7 separate regions of the Homo sapiens genome follow, and all the other regions are linked to region 4. Evidence: promoter capture Hi-C in 16 types of primary human blood cells and fetal thymus (Javierre and others, 2016). All regions are on one chromosome and are shown on one strand. Each heading gives the region's core, a stretch centred on a gene start or on the middle of the fragment in contact. The rest is flanking DNA. Distances are from core to core; before and after follow the strand shown.

Evidence for each region. Contacts are between HindIII fragments. The CHiCAGO score rates a contact against its expected background, and 5 or more counts as called.
Region 1: a fragment that was not itself captured here is called in contact with the fragment with the promoter of GLB1L2 in region 4 in 4 of 17 cell types (total CD4 T cells, non-activated CD4 T cells, activated CD4 T cells and 1 more); the score reaches 7.2 in total CD4 T cells.
Region 2: a contact is called between a fragment that was not itself captured here and the fragment with the promoter of GLB1L2 in region 4, in 2 of 17 cell types (activated CD4 T cells and total CD8 T cells). The highest score is 8.3, in activated CD4 T cells.
Region 3: a fragment that was not itself captured here is called in contact with the fragment with the promoter of GLB1L2 in region 4 in 2 of 17 cell types (total CD4 T cells and activated CD4 T cells); the score reaches 7.3 in total CD4 T cells.
Region 5: a contact is called between a fragment that was not itself captured here and the fragment with the promoter of GLB1L2 in region 4, in 6 of 17 cell types (activated CD4 T cells, fetal thymus, naive CD8 T cells and 3 more). The highest score is 9.6, in activated CD4 T cells.
Region 6: a contact is called between a fragment that was not itself captured here and the fragment with the promoter of GLB1L2 in region 4, in 4 of 17 cell types (activated CD4 T cells, total CD4 T cells, naive CD8 T cells and 1 more). The highest score is 7.5, in activated CD4 T cells.
Region 7: a contact is called between a fragment that was not itself captured here and the fragment with the promoter of GLB1L2 in region 4, in 1 of 17 cell types (total CD8 T cells). The highest score is 5.6, in total CD8 T cells.

Annotation. Positions count from the first base shown.
Region 1 is chr11:133,976,957-133,979,832 of GRCh38, forward strand. No RefSeq gene overlaps it. Among named protein-coding and RNA genes, the nearest start is that of IGSF9B, 21 kb to the left of the region's middle. The HindIII fragment of the contact is 2,049 bases long and covers 484-2,532 here.
Region 2 is chr11:134,022,035-134,024,936 of GRCh38, forward strand. All of the region lies in intron 1 of LINC02730 (long intergenic non-protein coding RNA 2730), which reads left to right. Among named protein-coding and RNA genes, the nearest start is that of LINC02731, 8.8 kb to the right of the region's middle. RefSeq lists an enhancer at 2,102-2,902. The HindIII fragment of the contact is 2,577 bases long and covers 357-2,902 here.
Region 3 is chr11:133,928,409-133,931,557 of GRCh38, forward strand. It overlaps IGSF9B (immunoglobulin superfamily member 9B), which reads right to left. Exons shown (of 20, transcript NM_001277285.4): 10 at 3,045-3,149; 11 at 2,576-2,726; 12 at 1,263-1,374. Among named protein-coding and RNA genes, the nearest start is that of IGSF9B, 27 kb to the right of the region's middle. RefSeq lists enhancers at 2,086-2,758, 2,326-2,620, 2,406-2,700. The HindIII fragment of the contact is 8,847 bases long and covers 1-3,149 here.
Region 4 is chr11:134,330,259-134,333,237 of GRCh38, forward strand. It overlaps GLB1L2 (galactosidase beta 1 like 2), which reads left to right and starts at 1,730. Exons shown (of 19, transcript NM_001370461.1): 1 at 1,730-1,889. The coding sequence starts at 1,804. RefSeq lists a silencer at 1,580-1,879. The HindIII fragment of the contact is 5,891 bases long and covers 1-2,979 here.
Region 5 is chr11:134,039,594-134,042,441 of GRCh38, forward strand. LINC02731 (long intergenic non-protein coding RNA 2731) reads left to right here. Exons shown (of 3, transcript NR_027276.1): 3 at 169-1,748. Among named protein-coding and RNA genes, the nearest start is that of LINC02731, 8.7 kb to the left of the region's middle. The HindIII fragment of the contact is 9,450 bases long and covers 1-2,848 here.
Region 6 is chr11:133,908,181-133,911,245 of GRCh38, forward strand. IGSF9B (immunoglobulin superfamily member 9B) reads right to left here. Exons shown (of 20, transcript NM_001277285.4): 20 at 1-1,097. The coding sequence ends at 889. Among named protein-coding and RNA genes, the nearest start is that of MIR4697, 11 kb to the left of the region's middle. The HindIII fragment of the contact is 4,099 bases long and covers 1-3,065 here.
Region 7 is chr11:134,651,649-134,654,640 of GRCh38, forward strand. No RefSeq gene overlaps it. Among named protein-coding and RNA genes, the nearest start is that of LINC02706, 59 kb to the right of the region's middle. The HindIII fragment of the contact is 1,851 bases long and covers 376-2,226 here.

The DNA of each region.
Region 1 (2,876 bases), core at 258-2,757, 350 kb before region 4:
TCCCCCTCCCTGGCCCTGTGGTTCTCCTGCAGAGATAGAGGTGGGGAGGACAAAGGCAGGTCAAAGCACACTCTTAAAGTTTGTGCTGAAAACTCTGCAATGGTCCTGGAGGGGAGCCTGGACACAAACATCTCCTCTGGCCAAGACCAGAGGCAGGTGTCCTTTGTTCTTTCTTGTCTCCAGGTCTAAACCCACTTGAGCAGAAAGGGGAGGGGAGCCACCTCAAAGCAGTATTGAAAGCACAAGCACTTCCTCCTTGTGCAAGTGTAGGGCCCCAGCCAGGCATGCATAGGTCAGGACGGCCCACCAGTAGGAAGAAGGACAGTCCTAGGCACAGAATCCCCAGGGAGAGGGATGAGACCTGCAAGGTGGCCCCAAACCACCTTGGCCCCAAACCACCCTTGCCCTCAGTCCATGGAAATCCAGTTTCTTTCCACTTGGGCGTGAGCTGAGGGAGGGAATAATGGGTCAGGAAAGCCCCGAAGCTTACCCCAGGAGCAGGCGTCCCAGGCCGGGTGTGGTCCCTCAGCTGAGCAGCGCTTCCCACATGAAGCAGTTAGGAAGCTGCCTGTGTTTCCAGGGCCCTCGGGGGGGCCCTGGCTCTCACCTGAGCTAACACAGAATGAGAGGCCAAACTGCGATGCCGTGGGAGGCTTCAGACGGTGTTTCTTGTGGGTGTTATTTCCAGCCTAATGCTGCATTCACATGGCTCTGCCTGTTGATTACTATATTATGATGTATTAATCACAGGCTAACGAGGCACTCCGCCCCACTCCTCTCTCCAGGCTGTACAGGATCCCACCTGGATCCCACAGCACCACTGGCTCTCCTGTATCTGCACCCCCAACCCACCCTCAGGGCCAGCCCTGGGTTCAGCCCCCTTGCCTACAGACAAACTCAGAGGCAGTCATTTCTTGTGTCCACATCCAAGCTAACAATGTTTAAAGCCAGGGTTTGGCACCCACAGATCTTTGTGATGCCCCTCTTCCTCACTCTCTGATAACAAAGGTCTAGGAGGCAAAACAAAGCCCAGAAGAGAGGAAAGTCGTTCTGATGTTTTTCTTGGGTCCAGGAGAATGAGACAGGCTATGGCTCTCTGGGACCTGCGAACTCTCCCAAGTGCTGAGTGAACTTGACTTGGTCCTGGGGAACCGGTTCATTCAATAGCATTTAAGTCTTTATGTGGCAAGTGCTGTTTTCAGCCAAGTGAACGGGAAGTTCCTAACTCCCGGGACTTCACTCCTGACAGAGGTGCGCTGTCAGGCCTTGGGCCGCTGCAGTGAAAAGTCTTGGTCCTTGACCGTCTGGCGAGGACAGTTCAAACCAGTGACTTCAGGGTATGATCTGAGTCCTCAGTGGCGCACTGGCTTTAGAAGAAAGAGAGAGAGGACCCAGAGAGAGAAGACTCACTCCCTGACCCCAGGAACAGAGTCTAGCAGGAAAGAAGTACAGATGAATGTAGTGTCTCGCATCAGGACCGAGGAATCAGGGGACGTGCCACTGAGCTGACAGAGCTTCGGGGACGATGACACTCCATGTATCTGTGTCTGTTTCAGGAGTCAAACCCCTTACCTGTGATTTATACTTTGCCCTTATAGTCCTGTTCATTTTTTTAGGAGTCCTTCAAAGGCATGAGGTCATTTGTATATGCTCACCCACAATATGAGCAGGCCATAGAATATGCCCAGACTTGGGTATAACGTCCTGGACTTAATAGTATTAGTGGGTACCATGATGAGAAAACAGAGGCTGGTATGGTGATGATACTGAGGAACAAGAGGGCTTCTTAGGCAGGAGAACTGGTCACCTGGAGATGATGTGGGCATATGCTAAGCCCAAGCCACAACAATTTATTTGCAAGATATGAGCACTACAAATAATTCATGCATCCTGTGGCTCCCAGTGCTCCAGGCCTCCTGATGTCCACATGCTTTTATACAGTCCCCTTCCCTAGGGCTGACTTACGTTACTCACCAATAGAATCACATGGAAGTGATGATGTATAACCTCCATGCTTTATCACAGAGGCATTGTGCCTTGGTCTTCTGGATGACTCACTTGGAGAGAAGTCATTGCTATGCCATGAGGACACATCAGCAGCCCTGGGGAGAGTCCTCACTGAGGACTCTTGCCAAGTGCCAGCATCAACTGCCAGCCACATGAGTGAACCTCCTTGGAAGCAGGTCCTTCCTCTCTTCTGGGCTTTAGTTTTGCCTCCTAGACCTTTGTCATCAGCGAGTGAGGAAGAGGGGCCTGCAGCCTGAGTCAAGCCTTCAGATGATGATAGCCCAGGCTGGACATCCAATTACAGTCCCATGAGAGACCCCAGGCCGGGACCACCCAGCCAAGCCACTCCTGAATTCCTGACCCATACACACTATGAGAGGTAAGAAATAGATATGGTTGCTTTAAACTGCTAAGTTTTGAGATAATACACATTGCAACAGAAATAACTAACACATATCCCTAGCAATAATGTAGTTCCTAGAATACAGCAGGTGCTCAGGAAATGTTTAATGGATGAATGAATGAAGCTTCTAGTAGAGGGGCTGTAAGTCAAACTTTATGACTACTGATGAGAAGAGGGAATGGGTAGCCATGGCCAGGAGAACTCATGTTCCAAACTTGGAAAGATAAAACTTAGCTCATAAACTCGAGAATACAAGAAATGTCATAATACTTTATTTTCTTCAAATCTGAATAAATTGACCCTAAGTCATTATTGTTACCCAAGACCCCTCTCTACCCCACCTCAACCTCATCCAAGGATCTGGGAAAAAATTCACTGTGGGAAAAGAGCCTCTACTCCCCAAGTCTATGATGGCCATTTATAATACCTTCAAACCTCACACACTATGATTCCTTAAAGCCAGGTT
Region 2 (2,902 bases), core at 395-2,894, 310 kb before region 4:
GTTTGAGACCAGCCTGACCAACATGGAGAAACCCCATCTCTACTAAAAATACAAAATTAGCCGGGTGTGGTGGTGCATGCTTATAATCCCAACTACTCAGGAGCCTAAGCCAGGAGAATGGCTTGAACCCGCAAGGCGGAGGTTGCAGTGAGCCGAGATTGCACCATTAAACTCCAGCCTTGGCAACAAGAGCAAAACTCCTCCTCAAAAAAGAAAAATAAATAAAAAACGAAACACTGTCTTCTCCGTTTTCGTTTTGCCCTCCGTATAGCGGCAGCTCAATCTATATGCTGATTTTTGTTGTCCACACATCAAATGGCAAGAGGCTGCAGCCCACAAATGCTAACTGTGCAGGAAGCTTCACAGGACAGAGTTTGTTTATTGTTCTGCAGCTGGTAGAGGCTGAAGGACATTGGAAGAACTGGGCTTCTTGGGGCTGAGATGGGTGCTTATAGGCCTTCAGCCCCTCCCACCAGGGAGGAACATACCTCTAGGGAGATGTGAAAATTGCAGTTTTATTTCTAATGATCTCCAGGGTAAAGGTCTTGGTTACCTGGCTCCCCACTCTGAGAGTTAAACCATCCTGATTGTCAGAGTTCCTGCTGCTAATGGAATGTTCCAGATGTATCTGCAGGGGAGAATTTTGACAGGCCTGAATCCCAGACCTGCTGCAGGATGCTCCTGAGAAAAATAACCTTTGCATTTCCCAATTTCACCACAAACACTGGAGAACGGGTAGGAAGTGCTGCATAAATTGTTTGCACCTGGTGAATAGGCCAGCTTGCGGCAAGAGTCCCTGGAAGGGTCATGTGGTTAGGCACGGTACCAGGCAGGAGAAAACAAACAAGAACACGAGAATGGAGAGGGAGCATCTCTGGGTGAGGTTGGCAGAATCCCAATCTCTGTGTGGGCCACCCCAGCTGTGGGTCCTCACAGGAGCTGGGGAACCTGGGAGCTGTGCTCTGTCTGGGAGCGCGCTGCGGCTCTGGCTCAGCGTCCTTGAGGATAAAGAAGGAACATGCCTAACTTTGCCCATTTGCATTTCATATCCATCATCTCGATTTTGCATTCTGGCAACTGTGCAAAATCTAATCCTCACTCTTCTTACTGGTCAAGTGTTCTTACTTCTCCTTTGAGGTACACAAAAGTTGAAAAAGAATTAGAACTTCTTTTAAGGCACATGCATGGTGTTGGGTTGGATGAACCCATCCAAGATCTAGCCCCAACCCCATGACACAGTCCACCCCCCCCTCCCTCAGATTGACCACACAAAAGCAGCTGGACCGGAGCATCTTTACTATTCCAGACTCAGCTCCCCTAAAAGTCCACTGCGTCCTGACTTCTGCTAAGATCCTGCACTCAAAACAAAGTACTGCCACCAAGGTCTCCTCAAAAGCCATTGGGCGTTTTCAAGGTATGTGTACCTGGGCACCTTCCCCCAAGGTGTAAGGTCAGTTACCAATAGGAAAACAGCCTCTTTAATTAAATATTTACTGTGTATATTGTGTACAATTTTAGACTACCTGTATGTGTGTGTGTGTGTGTGTGTGTGTGTGTGTGTGTGTGTGTGTGTGTGTATAGGTAAAATAATATTTGGTGATTTGCATCTTCATTTCACCCATCTTACTGTCCCTGGTGACAGCTGTGCGTGACTCACGCTGGCTCTTCTGACCCAGGTCTTCTTGCTTATCTTTGGAATATAGAAGAGAGGTGAAAAATGTGAATGCAGCCTCTTTTAAAACACATGCTCAGTGTGGCCTCTCCCAGGATGAGGCGTTGGTTGCTCCCATCCCAGGTCTAGTCCCGGCTCTGCTAACATTTCACAAACACTATCTCTTTGAGTCCCCATGAAGTAGGTAGTTTTGTCCTCATTGTACAGACTTGGAGAGGTTGAGCCGCTTGCCAGAGCTGGGGAGTGCCTACTTGGGGCTGAAATCTAGGTCCCCTTAACTAGAAAGCCTTAGCTTAGTATCTTGCAGTGGAGGAGCTCCTGACCCCCACTTCTGATGGGGTGCATCGGAAGTGCTTTGAGTGGGGCTGGGCGCAGTTACTCACACCTGTAATCTCAGCACTTTGGGACGCCGAGGCAGGGGGGTCCCTGAGGTCAGGGGTTCGAGACCAGCCTGGCCAACATGGCAAAATCCCGTCTCTACTAAAAATACAAAAATTAGCTGGGCGTGGTGGTGCACGCCTCTAGTCCTAGCTACTCAGGAGGCTAAGGCATGAGAATTGCTTGAACCTGGGAGGCAGAAGTTGCAGTGAACCGAGATTGCACCACTGCACTCCAGCCTGGGCTACAGAGCGAGTCTTCGTCTCAAAAAAATAAATAAATAAAATAAGTGCTTCGCGTGTCCAGGGCCCCGACTCCGAGGGAAGACCCTCAACCTCTTCACATTACCACTGGACCATTAAAGGGTTAAAACATCTTTGATCTGGAGCCTCAGCTGCTCATCCTTCTGTTTTAAGGGCCTCTGAATCATTAGCCTTTCCAAGCAGCCTCCCTCTGCCGCCTGAGGCAGGTGAAGTGGGAGAGGGGAGCGGCCCGCCTGGGTCCTGAGTCAGCGCTGACTCCCCACGCTGTCCTCCACAGATTAATCACCTCCAATTACAGCTTCTGACTGGGCACGAGTCATTCCCAGCGGCGCCTCCTCGGGCCGACCCTCGCCCCCCTGCAAACAGGCTGCCTATCCGTCCAACATGCTTGCTGTACTTCCCAGAGCCCCAAAAAGGTACCCCGGCAGCAAATGACTCAAGGATGAGGACCCACCCTCTTCCCCCTCACCATCTGCTCTCAGCAACATGAGTCTTCTGGGGGCAAAAAGAAAAGAGGACATGAAACTCCTCCCTTCCAGCAGCCTACAGAGGCCTGTGCACCCTTCCATTAGCAGGTTGGATAATTCTT
Region 3 (3,149 bases), core at 430-2,929, 400 kb before region 4:
CCGAACCACCATGATGGGAGACAGAGCGGGTGCCCCTCTCAACTTCCCTCGCTGCTGAGAAGTGGATAAAGGGGTCTCCCTGAACCCCCTGAGCTGCCCCAGGTGCCTGCCTTTTCCCCCTCCCCTCGAGCTCCCCCTCCTCGAGTTGAGCCTGGCTAGAGAGACACCTGCAGGTGAGACAGGTCTAAAAGAAGGCACTGAGGGGCTCGCCCTCCCAGCTCAAGGTTGTCACCCCCGGGGCAGGGCAGGTGGCTGCCACTCTTACTCAAACAGGAGTGTAGGGAGGGGCAGCCCTTGGGGGTGGGAGGAGTCAGCTAGGCTTCCTTCTCCTCCCTTCCTGTGCCTCCTGCCCTCACCCCGCTTGGCACATTTTTGAGATCTGTATCTACCCTAAGGTTTGCGCAAAGACCTCATATGACTGCATCTGGCTAAACTGACAACAGAGGAATGAAAACAATCGAGAAACACATGGTCCTAGAGAGAAAATGCAGGGGCTGACCCCAAGGCTGGGAAGTGAGCATCACCTCTCCACACCAGTTTCTGTGGCCTCTGGGGAAAAGACAGAATAAAAACTAGACTACAGGAGGTGGGGAGGGTGAACACGTACAAATCATAGTGAGAAAGAACCAGTAAGACCTGGTGTTTGCCAGCACAACAGGATTACAAGCAACAATAATGTATCATACATTCTTAAACCACTATGAGTATAATTGGATTGTTGGAACACAAAGGACAAATGTTTGAGGGGTGGATACCCCTTTACCCTGATGCGATTATTACACACTGCATGCCTATATCAAAATATCTCACGTACCCCATACCTACAAACGTATGTACCATGTACCCACAAAAATTACAAATACAAAAATACAAAAAAAATTAGTCTAAAAACTAGACTCTACACTTAAGGCTGGGCAATTTCACAAAGCCCTTGAAGGGCAGGAGTCTCTTCCAGGCTCCAGAGGAATCCAGAGGATGAAGCAGGACGCAAAACGAGGCAGCACGTGAGCAGGGAGAGGGCACAGAGAGGCCCAGACCCCTCAGGCCACAGGGACACAGCCATGCCCAGAGTCCCTTCAGACCCCTCCCGTCACCCACAAGGACCTCATCACTGTCTCAACCCACCTCAGTCTGTGCAGGGCTGGCAGGCCAGGAACTGCAGCCTCCTCCTACCTCCCCCCACCCGGGGTAGCCTGCAGGAAGACCGGGGAGGGGAGAAGCAGAGAGCAAAGCATGCCGGGGTGACTCACAGAGGTCCGTACCAAACTGAGAATGTCTGCTCGTAGCCTCCATCATAGCCTGGTTCCCAGGACACGTTGGCAGTTGTCATGGAGACCTGGACCCGGACACTGCCCGGGGCATGGGGGCTGGTGCCTGGAGATCAAGTGGAGACCTCTCAGACTGAAAAGAACTCAGCCACGTGGCTGGGTGCCCACCGTCTGGCTGTGGGGAACCTGAGAGGCTGAAGCGCATGGCAGCGGAGCACAATACTGCAAGTGAAGGGATGGGGGCGACGGGGATGCTCTCAGGCGCCGACTCCCCTGACCCTGCTTGTTAGTGGGGTTGGAGCAGGAAGCCTGTCCCACTGTGCGGTCTAGTCCAACTAGGAGATCACATAGCATCAGGAATGGGTCCAACAGAAACCAGAGCCCTCCTCGTCCTGGCCCAAATCCTGTGCTTCTCTGGTGAGCACAGAAACACTCTCTCCTAAGGCGGCAGGCACAGCCACAGAGCCCCTCCCGTAAGGTTCTCTGGCCTCAGAAGACAACTCCGTCCCACCCCAATGCTGGCATGTGGGCAGCACAGCACAGCAGTTAGGAGCCCCATCCTGGCTTCGATTCCCGGACCCACTACTTCTTAGCGATGTGACGCCGGAGAAAGCATTCGGGCCACGGCAACCTCTGCTTCGAGGAACCTACACTAGAGAAACCCCAGCTCGCACCTCCCGAGTTGTGAAGGACGAGCTGTGCAGACCACTTGGAACAGAACCTAAAACTGGTGGTAAAGGCTCCAAAAGCATTGGCTGTGACTGTGATTATAGCCGTCAGGACCCAGAAGGACAGGCTGAGAGGGCCCAGGCGAAGGTCCTGGGACACGCGCTTCGGGCAATCGGAAACGGGAACGCCCAGACACAGAACCCCAGAAACTTCCTCCTGCCCAGCCTCCGCACGCCAGGCCTGGCCTGCAGGTCTCAGCTCTGCCCTCATCTGAGATGCTGCACAGTCCCCGTCTCCCTCATTCCAGCCCTCCAGCTCTCCCTAAGGCCCTTAAACTCAAGGCTCTGCAGTCCCTGCCAGCCACACAGCCGCCTCTTTCCCTCAGGTGGGCTGCTGTGGACATCAGGCCTGTCCCCAGAAAGACCTCCCTGAGGACAGGAGCCACGCTGCCCTTCCCCGACAGAGCCCACGGGGGCAAAGGCTGCCGGTGCTGGACGCGGAGTTCAGGGCTGCACTGACTTAGGAAGGGAGCCCGCAGAGTGCAGCGGCCACCAGGGGACGCTCCCAGCGTCCAGCACCCCGCCCCCAGCCAGCCTGCTCTGTCCCCGCCGCCCGGCCCAGCCTTGCCGGCCACGTACCGATGACGGTGAGGTGGGTGCTGGCAGTGATGCTCGTGACCACGTTGGTGGCGACACATTCCCACTCCCCGTGGTCCTCCTTACTCAGGGCACGGAACTGCAGGCTCCCACTGGGCAGGGCACTGTGCTTGCTTCTGCTGGGCTTCCCTACCTTGGTGAACAAGGGGCAGGGAAGAGGGTGGGAACAGAAATGGGGGTTAGGAGAGAAGCCCGAAGCAGATGGGGAGGACGCGCCTGAGACCCCGGCCCGCCCACGCTGCCCTCCTCCCGAGTGCCTGCCGCTCTTCAGGGTCAGCTCACTGCTCGGCATCTAGCCTGGTCAGGGCAGGTCCAGAATAGAACTGCTCGCTGGGCCCTCACACCTCCCCTCAGCCCCGGGGCTCGCTGGGCCCTCAAACCTCCCCGCAGCCCCAGGGCTCCCTGGGCCCTCACACCTCCCTGCAGACCCAGGGCTCCAGGGCCCAGGTACCTTTCTCCAAGTGATGACAGGAAAGGGGTCCCCTGCGGCAGCACAGGGGATAAGTAGCTCCCGGCCGGCCTCCTGCCTGTACTCCCAGCCTGGTAGCACCGTGAA
Region 4 (2,979 bases), core at 480-2,979:
GGTTAGTGCTAACTTTGTAGCATTCTGTGGTATCATTAAGCCCAGATAAAGTAAAATTGTTCCTAGACTGTGAGCAGGGTGTGTCCCTAGTTCTGAACATCCCACAAGGTTAAGGGGAAATTTTTTTGAAAACACTCAGTTATGTATATTTTTCTCGCACAAATAAAAACGAAGGATACAAGGGTGGGCCAAGGAGTTCACGGTTTTCACAACCCATGTTAAGTTTTTGCTAACGTTTGAAGAAAAATGGAGATGCTTGTATTGCTTAAACCATTTGAGAATTCCCTTATATTTGATAGATTCTGCCACTGTTCAACGTGACCAGAAGTGAGAGGATGAATGTGGGGTGCATGTCTTTCGGATGGTCCCCTGCAGGCAAAGGGGCTAGCCTTTGACAATTTCTCCACACGCTTCGGGGCTAGCTGGTATATTCCAATTAAACCAACATGTTTCCATCACAGACTTCATAGCCATCAAGCAATCATAGCCTTACCCAATGGAGAAAAGGAGCGGGCTTGGAGCGCGTCCACGGGAGTGGGCCTCCCTCTGCGCGCCTCTGGGAATGTTTGCGGTGCTTAAGTCAGACCCGGATTGCTCCAAGCCCAGCTTATCCTCCCCAGTTCTGCCAGGGTTTTTTTCCTCTTGTTTGTTCGTTTGTTTTTGCCTCTCTTTGATTTAACTTTTGCTCCTTGACTAAATATGTGCTTAACGCTAGACAAAGGACACTTCATACCCAAGTCTGTGTCTTTGTTCCAAGATCTGCAATTTCATTTGGTTCCTGTCGGCTTTACAAGTTCAAAACTATGCCCCCGTTTAGGAAATGAATTCAAAGCATGCGGCAAGGGAGACATTCGACAAACCCGGATGCTCTGGAAAACGTTGCCCTTCCTCGAGTTTCTTTCAGTAAAATCTGAATTTTGTTCCCGGGAGGAGTTGGGTTTGTGATTGCTACAGTGTAAGTTGCACCGAAATACTACATCATGTTCTTTGGGACATACATTCTGTTTCAGAATAAGAATGATATTCTTCCTTTCCTAAAATGTGAGAGTTTTATATGGACCTTTTTAAAATAAAAAATTGGAAGCCCTTGGAGTCAAGGCCAGAGTAAGACTCGCAGAAACCAAAGACAGAAAATATTTGGAACCCCCCCTCCTCAGACATGAACCACACTGAAATGTGTCCAGATACAATTCTTCAAAATCCTGGCTTTTCACAGGATGATTTGTTATTGAAAAAGTTGTTTGCTTCAGAATCTGAATTGTTTTAAAAGATTCTGTTGGTTGCCCCTGCTTTGCGGACGCCTTTTGTACGTTCTTCCTGATGTAGCGCTGCGAGGGGCGACTTTACCTCGGCGTTTGACAGGTACGCAGCATTCCCGCACCCGCCTGCGCCTCGCGAGCAGAAAGACGGCGGACTCTGCACCGCTCCACGACACTGGGGACCCGCCCCGGCCAGACCCGTCCCCTACCGAGACCTTGTCCCCGCCCCGCCCCCGGCCGGGGCCCCGCCCCGCCAGCCCCGCCCCCGCCAGCCCCCTCTCCTACCGAGACCTCGTCCCCGCCCACCAGCCCCGCCCCGCCCCCCCCCCGACAGAGGCCCCGCCCCGGCCCCGGCCAGCCCCGCCCCCGCTTGCGCGAGGCCTAGGGCTGCAGGCGCGGAGCCGCGAGCCCCAGCCAATGAGCGCCGGCGGGCCGGTTGCCCAGGCGACCAGTGCGCGGCTCCGCCCCCCGCGGCGAGGCTCCCGCGCGCGGCTGAGTGCGGACTGGAGTGGGAACCCGGGTCCCCGCGCTTAGAGAACACGCGATGACCACGTGGAGCCTCCGGCGGAGGCCGGCCCGCACGCTGGGACTCCTGCTGCTGGTCGTCTTGGGCTTCCTGGTGCTCCGCAGGTGAGAGAGAGCTTCGCGCAGCACCTGCCGGACCCCACATTCCCCAGCCCTCCGCACCTCGGGTTCTCTCCTCCCGCGACCCGCGAATCCCGAGTTCCCGGGGGGAGCAGCCCCAGCTGCTTCTTTCTGGGAGCTCCCCAATACCCCCGAGTTCCCCTGCGGCTGCAGGCACTCTACTCCTGCCGCGCGATCCAGGCCTCTGGGCGACACCCGGCGTGCCCTCGGGAGCCGGCGTCTGTGCCCCGAGCCGCCCACCCCGCCGCGCCTGTGACGCCGGGCTCTGCCCCCCGTGGACGCCCGCAGCCCTCCAGCCGTCAGAGCCCTCTCAGACGCACCCCATCGCGGCCCCGTCCCCACTGCTCCGCGGAGAGCTCCCTCTGCCCTTCCCCCAGGCCCCCCTTTTCCTCCCAAGCCTCTGGGAGGCGCCTTATTCCGCAGAGGCCGGCGCTTCAGCCTGGCAGGTATGGTCTAGCCAGCTGGCCTGGCAGGGTCGTAAGAACAGTGTCCGTGGGCCTCCAAGATCCCGGGCCATGATTTATTTGCACAGTAGGACTGATAGGTCGTCTCTCTCCACTTTCCCACCATTCACCTGTTACCAGCTCACCCTTTCCTCTCCCCCTTTTCCAAATGTTGTTTATGGCAAAGGAGTGGCTTCAGTGATACTGTGATTTACCCACAGCCTGTGAAAAAGTTTTCTGGGTGCCCTAGCCCAGCATTTTTCTAAACTGTGCTTATTTTAAGGATTCTACAGCCCTGACCCTATCTTTCAGGTCAGCACTTTCCATATTCAAAACCTCCAGTGGGAAGCCGACCGGCAGTATCGAATGAACTGAACGGTTGGAAGTGGTGGCAGGCCCTACGCCGCTCGGCTTTGTCATTTGCTTCTTTTTTACTTAGAGAAACTAAGTTCTTAGTTTCTCTGCACTTCCCCTGGGAGACAGGGAAGTTTTTGATGGAGATAAATATCTGGAAGTCCTTTGTGGCCAGAAGAACACACTGACAAACTCTATGTTTACACCTTGTCAAGACTGGATTCTTGTTTCTGAGATAGTGGGGACGTCATGATATTGTTTGGGAGAAGGACGGATTT
Region 5 (2,848 bases), core at 294-2,793, 290 kb before region 4:
TCTCATCCCTGTGTTTCTGAGGGGAAAAGGAGACAGAGAAAGGTTGGGCAGGCTGACTTGGGTCACGTACCAATACCTAACGTTTATGAAGTGCTTGTCAGACACTGTTTTAAGCTCTGTAGATGTCAAAGGACCCCATGACGTAGGTATTATTATTCCCTTTGACAGTTGAAGAGATGAAGGCGCAGAGGCATGAACTCCCGTAGCCAGAGAGTGTGAGCTGGACTCTACCTGGAGCAGCCTCGGTGCAGAGCCCATGCCCCCAACCATGTCCGTGGTCGAGGCCCAGCCCAGACAGGGCACAAAGGGGCTGAGGAAGAGGAAGTAAGATGCCAGGGTTGCCATGCAGGAGGGCAACCCCAAGTGAGATGGGCATCGTGGCCTAGGGCCCACCTTCCGGAAGAGCTCATCAGAACTTCGGACACACTGCATGGGCCTAGACCCAGGGCTCGTTGAGCTCCTCCCTCGGATTGGCTTCGAATTTTAGGTGAATCCTCTCTAGCAGCCACATTCACCCTTGCAAGCCTGCACTTTGTCATCTTCTGAAAAGGTGCAGGAACATGATGCCCAGCTGACTCCCAGGGAGCGGGAGCCCCAGAGGCCAGCGGAGCACAGCCGCAGCAGGCAGATCTGTTGGGAAACCACGGGAGTATAGGAGCAGGGCTGGGGGCACCTGAGGGACTGTGGAGCCTGAATTATTGAAACGCTTAGAGTAAAGCAGATTTAGATTTCACAAAGACAGAGGTGAAGGTGGGTGAAGACGGAGGGAAGGATTTAAAGGGAAAGAGAAAGAGGAAAGATAAGAATGAGGGAGAAAGAGGAAGAGAGAAAGAAAAAGAGAAATAGAGTTATCGAAGATGACTGCAAGTCTGGCCTCTCTCAACCCAAGGAGCCAAGGAGGGGAAGGCCGGCCTGAGCAGCAACGTAGACAAGAGCTCAGGAGGGCAGGGACAGAGCCCTGGCTTCAGCAAGAGCGTGGGGAACAGAGGGCAAGGGGGTCCATGCAGCCCAGGATGGCAGGGTGCTCATACACACAGCCTTGGTCCTGTCCCCTCTCCCATTGCCGCTTTTGAGCTCACCTTGTTTAAGGCCAAAGCACACACCATCCTCCCACAGAGCCACTAATGCAATTAACAAAACACATTCATAAATCTTGCATGGCGTCCGGAGCTGTCTCCTCTCCCTAAGCACAAAGGCCAGCTCCAGAGATGCTGTGCAGAGAGCTGTCTGACCTCTCCAGCGTCAGGGCCCCCTGAAAAGTGCAGCATAACCCTTAGTAGGACAGAAAGACCATTGTCTTCTGCCAACCATTACAAAGTGGAGTGGGGCTGGGGTTAGGAAACACAGACAAATCAGAAGAGGCTGAGAAGGCGGAGATGAAAGTGCATAGGTGTTTGCAGGGAGCTGGGGAATAGTTCGTGCCTTCCAAGCTCAACAAGAGAGCATTCAGCAGAGACCAGAGAATCACCACTTTTGGAGGGTGATTTTACCTTGTGAGAACAGAGCACAGGGTGTGTGGGACCCAGGGCATCTTCGGCAATGCGGGCGTGACTTGGCGGGATGTCGGTGTTTGTGTTTGCATGTGTGTGTGCGTGCGTGCATGCTCAGTCTGGAAAACTGGTGACTCACTAAAACACCGAGCTTTCTGATCTGAAGAGCTTATATTCGGCTATTTTTAGCTCGTCTTGTCTCTTGGCCCTTTTTTTCCCCTTGTCTGTTTTCAAATGTAGAGGAGTCTGGAGACCATGAATGCCGTGTGTGTGTGTCTGCTAATTTAGAGCTTGGGCCCAGAGGTGGGTACCCCTGAAGGTGCAGAGATGAAGGCACGTGGGGTGTATGTGTGTACAGCAGGGACACACTGACACAGACAGGGTGCACATGCTCTTATTCTGGCATGTACACACGCGTACCATGCATACGTGCAAGCAGGAGTGAGGCCAGAAACGTCCCTGGAAACTCCGGCCTACACTCTCTTCACGTGGGTTGGTGTACAGCTACCCACTATGCATACTTCACAAGTATAACTGCCTCCCCACCCCAGCCCCTGCCTCACACGACCCAGGTGGGCACACTCTCATGAGGCACATGGCCACAGGCACAGTCTGGGCCTATCTTGGGGAATGGCCCCAGCCCCTGTGCCTTGTTTCTTCTCTGTTCAGCCACTCTTCCAAAAATTATGACTTCTTCTCAAGAAGGCCTTTCTCTGCTGGTTGGCAATAGGAAACACGAAGTGCCAGCTTCTGCACTTGGCTTCTCCTGGGACTCATTCAGCTGATCCCACCTGCCCACCACCATTGGCCGAGACCGCCTCCCCAGTCCAGTGGTCATCCAGCTACAGGGGGTCTGGCAACTGCTTAGAGAGGCCAGGCAGGGGTCAATGCTGTGTGAGCTCCGTTCCTCTAGCCGGGAGAGAGGGAGAAAGGAGAGCGAGCTCGGATTGCCATCTGCCTAGGTGCAGTGTGGGGCAGGCGGGGAGCGGAGCTCGGACTGCCGTCTGCCTAGGTGCAACGTGGGGCAGGCAGGGAGCGGACAGCACTCTTCAAGGCTCTAGAACGCTGGTGGGTTCCTGGACCTTGACTCTGTGTGACAGGACTGTGTATGCAACCCAGTGTCAAGAGCAGAAATGCGCAAATGCTGCCTATGACCAGTGCCTCAGTGATGCGGCACGCCTGGGAAAGGGCACCCACAGCCTCTCTTTCCACACAGCACACATGCTGTGCACTCACGCACAGCAGCACGTGCCTGCATGCACACACTCTTAGAAGCCTGCGTGAGAGAGAACACGAGCCTTCGTTACTCCAGACACCAAAGCAAGCTCTGAGCTGCATCATCCCTCAAGTCTGCAGTT
Region 6 (3,065 bases), core at 264-2,763, 420 kb before region 4:
GCCCCGCGGCTGAGTTAGCCTCTACTCCTGCAGCGTGAGCCACGCTGGAAGGAAGAAAGATGCAGGTCTAGGAGCCTGGCCACCCCTTCTTCACCCAGGAACCAAGAAACAAAGGCTTGAATTTAGTTCTGCAGTAACTCATTACTGAACCCCCATAGAAGGCAGCCGGTAATCACAGCAAGGCCCCATTTCTGCTCTGGGTGGGAGAAGGTAGGAGACACACGGAGAATTCAGCTGAGAGACACGGATCTTGTTTTGGGAGAAAGAATCCCCCAAGACAGATGTCAGGCACCTGGCCAACGTGCAGCCAGCCCTGCTCGCAAACCCCAGCTGGCCACTGCCCTCCTCCTCCTGCCTCCACTGACCACAGAGAGCAACAGCACTTTGCCTCAATGTACATATATATATATATATATACACACATAGAGAAACCCACACACTACAGACATATGCATCTGTATCTATATCTATATATATGTGGGGTGTGGAAGATGGACATTAAGTCCAGCCTTCTTCCAGGACTTGAAAAACTGAAACAGAAGCAGAGAGCAGTAAAAGCCATTGCTTTCCTCTTCACTTCCAAAGACATTGGAAGAGATGAGAAAAATCAACCTAGTGAAGCAGGGGGCGGAGGGGAGGAGACAGGTGTTGCCCAGTCTCCAATCCACTTCCTGACCTCGACCCACAGGTGGAAGGTGTGCCCACCCTCCGTCCTGAAGACAGGCGGCCAGGATCTGGAGGGAGACACCCGCTCTGGCAAAAGAGGGGGCATGCAGGACAAAGGTCTGGGCCGCCCTTGGCAGACGGAGGAGGACACACCCCCACACAGTGGCCCTCCCTGCCTGAGCCCAGCAACCTCGCCCCGGGGACACCTAGAGTGGGGTGGAGTCACAGCAAAGTGGCATGTCCTGGGTCATCGTGGTCCACACTGTTGAGAATCGCTGTCTGGTCTTCCGGAAGCTGGCGGTGGCACAAGTCTGAGAGCCGGGCAAAGGGGTCAGGACGAGAATGTCTCTTCTTCTTTCGGAGGCAGACAGCTTCATCGGGCCACAGAACCTGAGAGTTGGGAAGCTGCTGAGTCTGGGAGGCAGAATCGTCTAGGAAGAAAGGAAGAGGGACGCAAAAGAGAAGCAAGCGGATGAAAAGGAAGCACGCAGCCTGCTCACCTTTTCCACCTGCATTTGTTCCGGGTTTCTAATGTTGAAACAAAGGAATCACCTGAGTCTAGAGAGACCAGACCGAATTGCTGCAGAGAAACCACCTTCTTTTCCGCCAAGACAACCAGCAACCTGACCCTGCTCCTTTCACTTGAATAAGAGTTAAGAAAGTGGAATGGAGAGGATTTTCCTTCTCATTCATTTCTTTCTCGATCAGTCTACAAATATTTCTTTTAGTGCCTCTTGAGTACTAGGCATCATTCTAGGGACTGGGGATCAGGAAGGAACAGGCTGGGACTCAGGACATCTTTCTCATCTGCCCCAAGCAATGACCGACTTTATACAAGATTTTAATCGCATGCAACGGTCAGGCCTTGACCCTTCCTGGACTGCCTGGGCCTCTCCTCTGCCTCATGGCCCTTCTGGAGATTAATCAGGAATGCCTTTGCTAGCTTCAAAGACTATGCATCCATGTGAGGGTGCAGAGGAAGAGACAAACTGTCAAGACTTTAAAAACACAGAAATAAAATTTGCAGTTACTGAAAATACTACAAAGATAAAATAGGGTCAACTGAGGCACTACTCCGCTCCTTAAAGGGTTAACACTTGAATTGCATCTTAAATTATGAGCCTTCCACAGATCTGAAGAAAAATTATTCCCAACAGAAGAAATGGCATGTGTGCAAGCCCCAAGTTAAGGGTAAATGTGGTGTGTCCCCGATACAGAAGGGAGGTCATCTCAGTTGGAAAAGAGTGAGGCAAGAAAGACAGGCAGGGCATCTAGGAGCTTGAAATCTGTTCTGGTTACGATGGGAATCTGGTTACGATGGGGAGGTTTTAATCAGAAGTGTGTGTGTGTTTGTGTATGTGCACACACGCCTGCACGTGTGTGTTCGTAACTGAAAGAGAGGATGCCGCTACGTGTCCTGCAGTTCGCCGTGGTGGCTGTGTGTGGAGTCCACGGTGCAAGGTACAAGGATAGGGCTGGAACACCAGCCACGAGGTACTGCAATAGTCAAGGTGGGACAGACAGTGACTCAGAACACAGAGTTAGCAATAGAGACAACAGAAAGTGGCCAGATTCAGGATATGTTGCAAAGGCTGAGCTAACAGGCATTACCTAGCGGGCTCGACGTAAGATGTGAAGGCAAGGGAAGAATCTGGGAATTAAGGGGCCTGACACCCCAGTGGGTACCAGTGCTAGTGATTAAACCGAGGAAGAGCTGAGGAGAAGCAGACCTGGAGAGGCTGATCAATAACTCTGCTTTAGACATCGTAAAGGCGTATGAAACACCCAAGTGCACGTTCAGCTGGCAACTGGAAATATCAGCCATGACCTCAGGGAAGGGACCTGGGCTAAAGACAGACATTTGGAAGATGCCACCACAGAACTGGTAACAGGACCACTGCCATCAGAACAAGAGACAATGCAGGTCTCTGATGTGACTTTTTTTTGCAATAAAGAAATATATGTTATACATATATAAAAACTATATATTGATGGGTCTTAAATGGGTTAACAATGGGCTTAATTGGCTGAAAATGCAGCTTTGAGCTCCAGTTTCTAACCCAAGCCCTAAAAACATCATTTTCTTTTTCTCTGCCTCAGTATTTCCATCTGTAAACTGAAAGTATACTAGTACCAGCCAAAGGCTAAGTGATCATAAGTGATCACCGTCTCCCAGAGATTCATGGGGCTTTGAATTTCTATATAACACTCTCCCATAATCCTGTCTATAAAGAGAGTTACTCTACAACAGTTATCAAAGCTCTGCAAAGCAACTGTTCAGCATTCTTCCTTGACAGACTGCCACAACACTCCTAAAACCATTCATGAAAAGAGGGTTTTTAACAAATATTAAAGAATTTTCTAGTCCTTAAGAGGGCTAAATTCGTTTTGCACTCAGA
Region 7 (2,992 bases), core at 51-2,550, 320 kb after region 4:
GGGATTAACTTGGCTTCTTAAAACTGCAGGTGTGTGACTTCTGACAAATTTGGGAAAATTGTAGCCATTTTTTAAAAAACAGTGTTTCAGCACCAACCGTTTTCTCATCTCTTTTCAGGACTCTAGTGACACAAATATTCGATATTTTGTCTAGTTCCGTAATATTTTGCATAATCTCTTTTCATTTTTATCAGTCTGTTTTTTCTTATTGTTCAGATTGAGTAATTTCTAATGTTAAATCTCAAATTTATGAATTCTTTCCTTTGTCCTTTCCATTTGGATGTTGAGTCAATAAATTGAATTCTTAAATTTATTTTATTGTATTTTTTGTTTTTTCAATTTTAATTTTTAAATTTACATTTTGTTTTGGTTCTAAGCTTTCCATTTAGTTTTTATTATCTTCTATTTCTCTGCTGAGATTTTCTATGTTTTTATTTGTTTCAAGCATGTTTATTATTACTCATTAAAGCATTTTAACCATGACCATTAAAATCTTTGTCAAATAATTCTAACATCTTTGTTATCTCAGTGTTAGTATATAATCAATTGTCTTTTTCATTCAAGTTGACATTTCCCTATTTCTTGGCATGACAAGTGATTTTCTTCCTTCTTTTTTTTTTTTTTTTTTTCCTGAGACAGGATCTTACTCTGTTGCCCAGGCTGGAATGAACATGGCTTACTGTAGCCTTGACCTCCTTTGTTCAAGTGATTCTTCGGCCTCAGCCTCCTGGGTAGCTGGGACTGTAGGTGTGCACCACCACCTGGTTAATTTTTTAAATTATTTTTTGTAGAGATGGGATCTCGCCGAATTGCCCAGGCTGGTCTTGAACTCCTGGACTCAAGTGATTCTTCTGCCTTGGCCTCCCAAAGTGGTGGGATTACAGGCATGAGCTGCCCTGCTTGACTGGACAGATTATTTTCAATTGGAACCTGGATACTTTGGATAGTGTGGTATGAGACTCTAAATCTTATTTAAGCCTTCTGTTTTCACTGGCTCATTGCTGTCATGTGGAGGCAGAAACCCAGGCTCCCCACTTGGTCTCTATTGACACCCGGGTTGGGGAGTGCTCCCTGTTATTGCTGTGTGGAAGTGGGAGTCCTGTCTCCCCACGTCTCCACTGATACCCTGGGGGTGAACTGGTTATTCTCTCTGGGTGCTGGTGAAAGTCCTGGCTTTCCACTAGGCCTCCTCTGATGCTGCTCAGTGTGGAGCAGAAGGAGGGCCTTGTCACCGACAGGCAGAAGTGGAAGTGCCGGCCTCTGATGTGTTCTCCGTCAACACGGCTGCCCAACAGTGATAATAGTGTCTGCTCCCTCCTCCATCTCCCTTCCCACAACCCTTGAGAGTGTGAACAAGTCTGGGTGCTTCATCACGGCACTGCAAGGGCAGAAATCAAGGTTTTCCACTCAACTTCTGCTGGTCTGGGTAAGGTGGAGCCATGGTTTTTCTAGGGTGTTTGGCTGGAGTAGGGTGGGTCTTGTCTAAAGAGGCTCAGTCCTCCTGTGCTGTCCGTGTCCCTGGTCACTTGGCTAGAGACAGCAGGGTTCTGCTGGGGACTTTTCCTTGGCTGATTGGTGTTGATGGCTTCTTTGCATCCAAATCTGGGATATATAAGATTTAAAAAATTAGCATACCTCAGAGAACTCACTGTGGTATTGCTTCTCAATGCTTAGAGTTCTCCCAAGCTCCCAATTGGTCTGCCTTGCTCTTTCTACCTTTCAGTGTCTTTTTATGTTTTCAAAAACATATTGTGCAGGAATTTCAGTTGTACTTAGTAGGAAACTGTTTTTAGTTGTATCTAAAGTTGTAGGAAAAGTACTTCTGCTCCATCTTCCCAGAAGTCAAAGTCATCGATACCACATAATCTCTTGCCACAGAATCTAAAATGCCTAAACTTGACAGTGGTTATCAGGAGTGGCTCTCAAAATTAAATTATTGGAATGAGATTTTACAGCTGGATAAGCACTCATCCAAAGGTACTAGAAACCACAGCGAGTTACTGTTAATAAGCAGGGTGGTGATAACACCTGGTGTATATCATATGTACCCCATAATTAGGTAGAATATTATGTATCAGTAAAAATAAAAAATTTTTAAAAAGAAATAAAAATATTAATTGAGTAAATAAATGAATAACTTGATGACCACACACTCACTCACACACACACACACACACACACACACCCCGTTTCTGAGGCTTTTGTACTGAGATAGTTAGAAGTTGAAGCTTTGGGATGTGAATAGTGATGGTGTTCAATTTATACGTGTGCAATGATGGATACAAAAATATGGTATTGGCTGATATTTATCATGGCCTTTGAAGCCTTGCAAAAAGAAAATAACAGCCACATGGAATCTGAGTGCCTGTCACAATGAAGCTATGCCTCCTCAGTATTTATCTCCTAAGCAGGAAGGGTGAGAGGTAATAACCTATCTGCCACATAAATGACAGGATCTGGCTACCATGCACCAGTAGGAAGTTGCTGTGGCAGCATCCCAAAAGATGTTTCGGAAGATCCCTGAAGCTTGGATTTGACAGTGGTGTACAGTGAATGAGGCGGTGTTAGGCCTTCCTTGGGATAGGGTTGAGGAAGGGCTCAGAAGGCTCATGAATTTAGACATGTTACCAAAGCTGTGCTATGTGAGGCCTGAGGGTGCATCATCTGATCATGTTTCCTCAAAGGGACAGGAAAATCGTCCTCCGCTAAGACAAGAAGGCAGGCAGTGGTGAGAGGCCGTTGGTGTGTTTGAGAAGACGGGTGCGGGAGGAACTCCGAAGGCCACGTTTATGGTGAGGGATGGTATCACGTTCTCCAATATCCACGAGGATTGTGAGGTTCTGGAGTGACATGGCAGAACCTAGATCTTAAATGTCAGATAAAAGTGGACATAATCTCCATGGTGCGCAGAGGGTGAAGTTGTCTTCAGTATGGTTTGACCCAATGGCTAACAGACTGCCATGAATCTAGGGACAAATATGTAGGCAGAGGC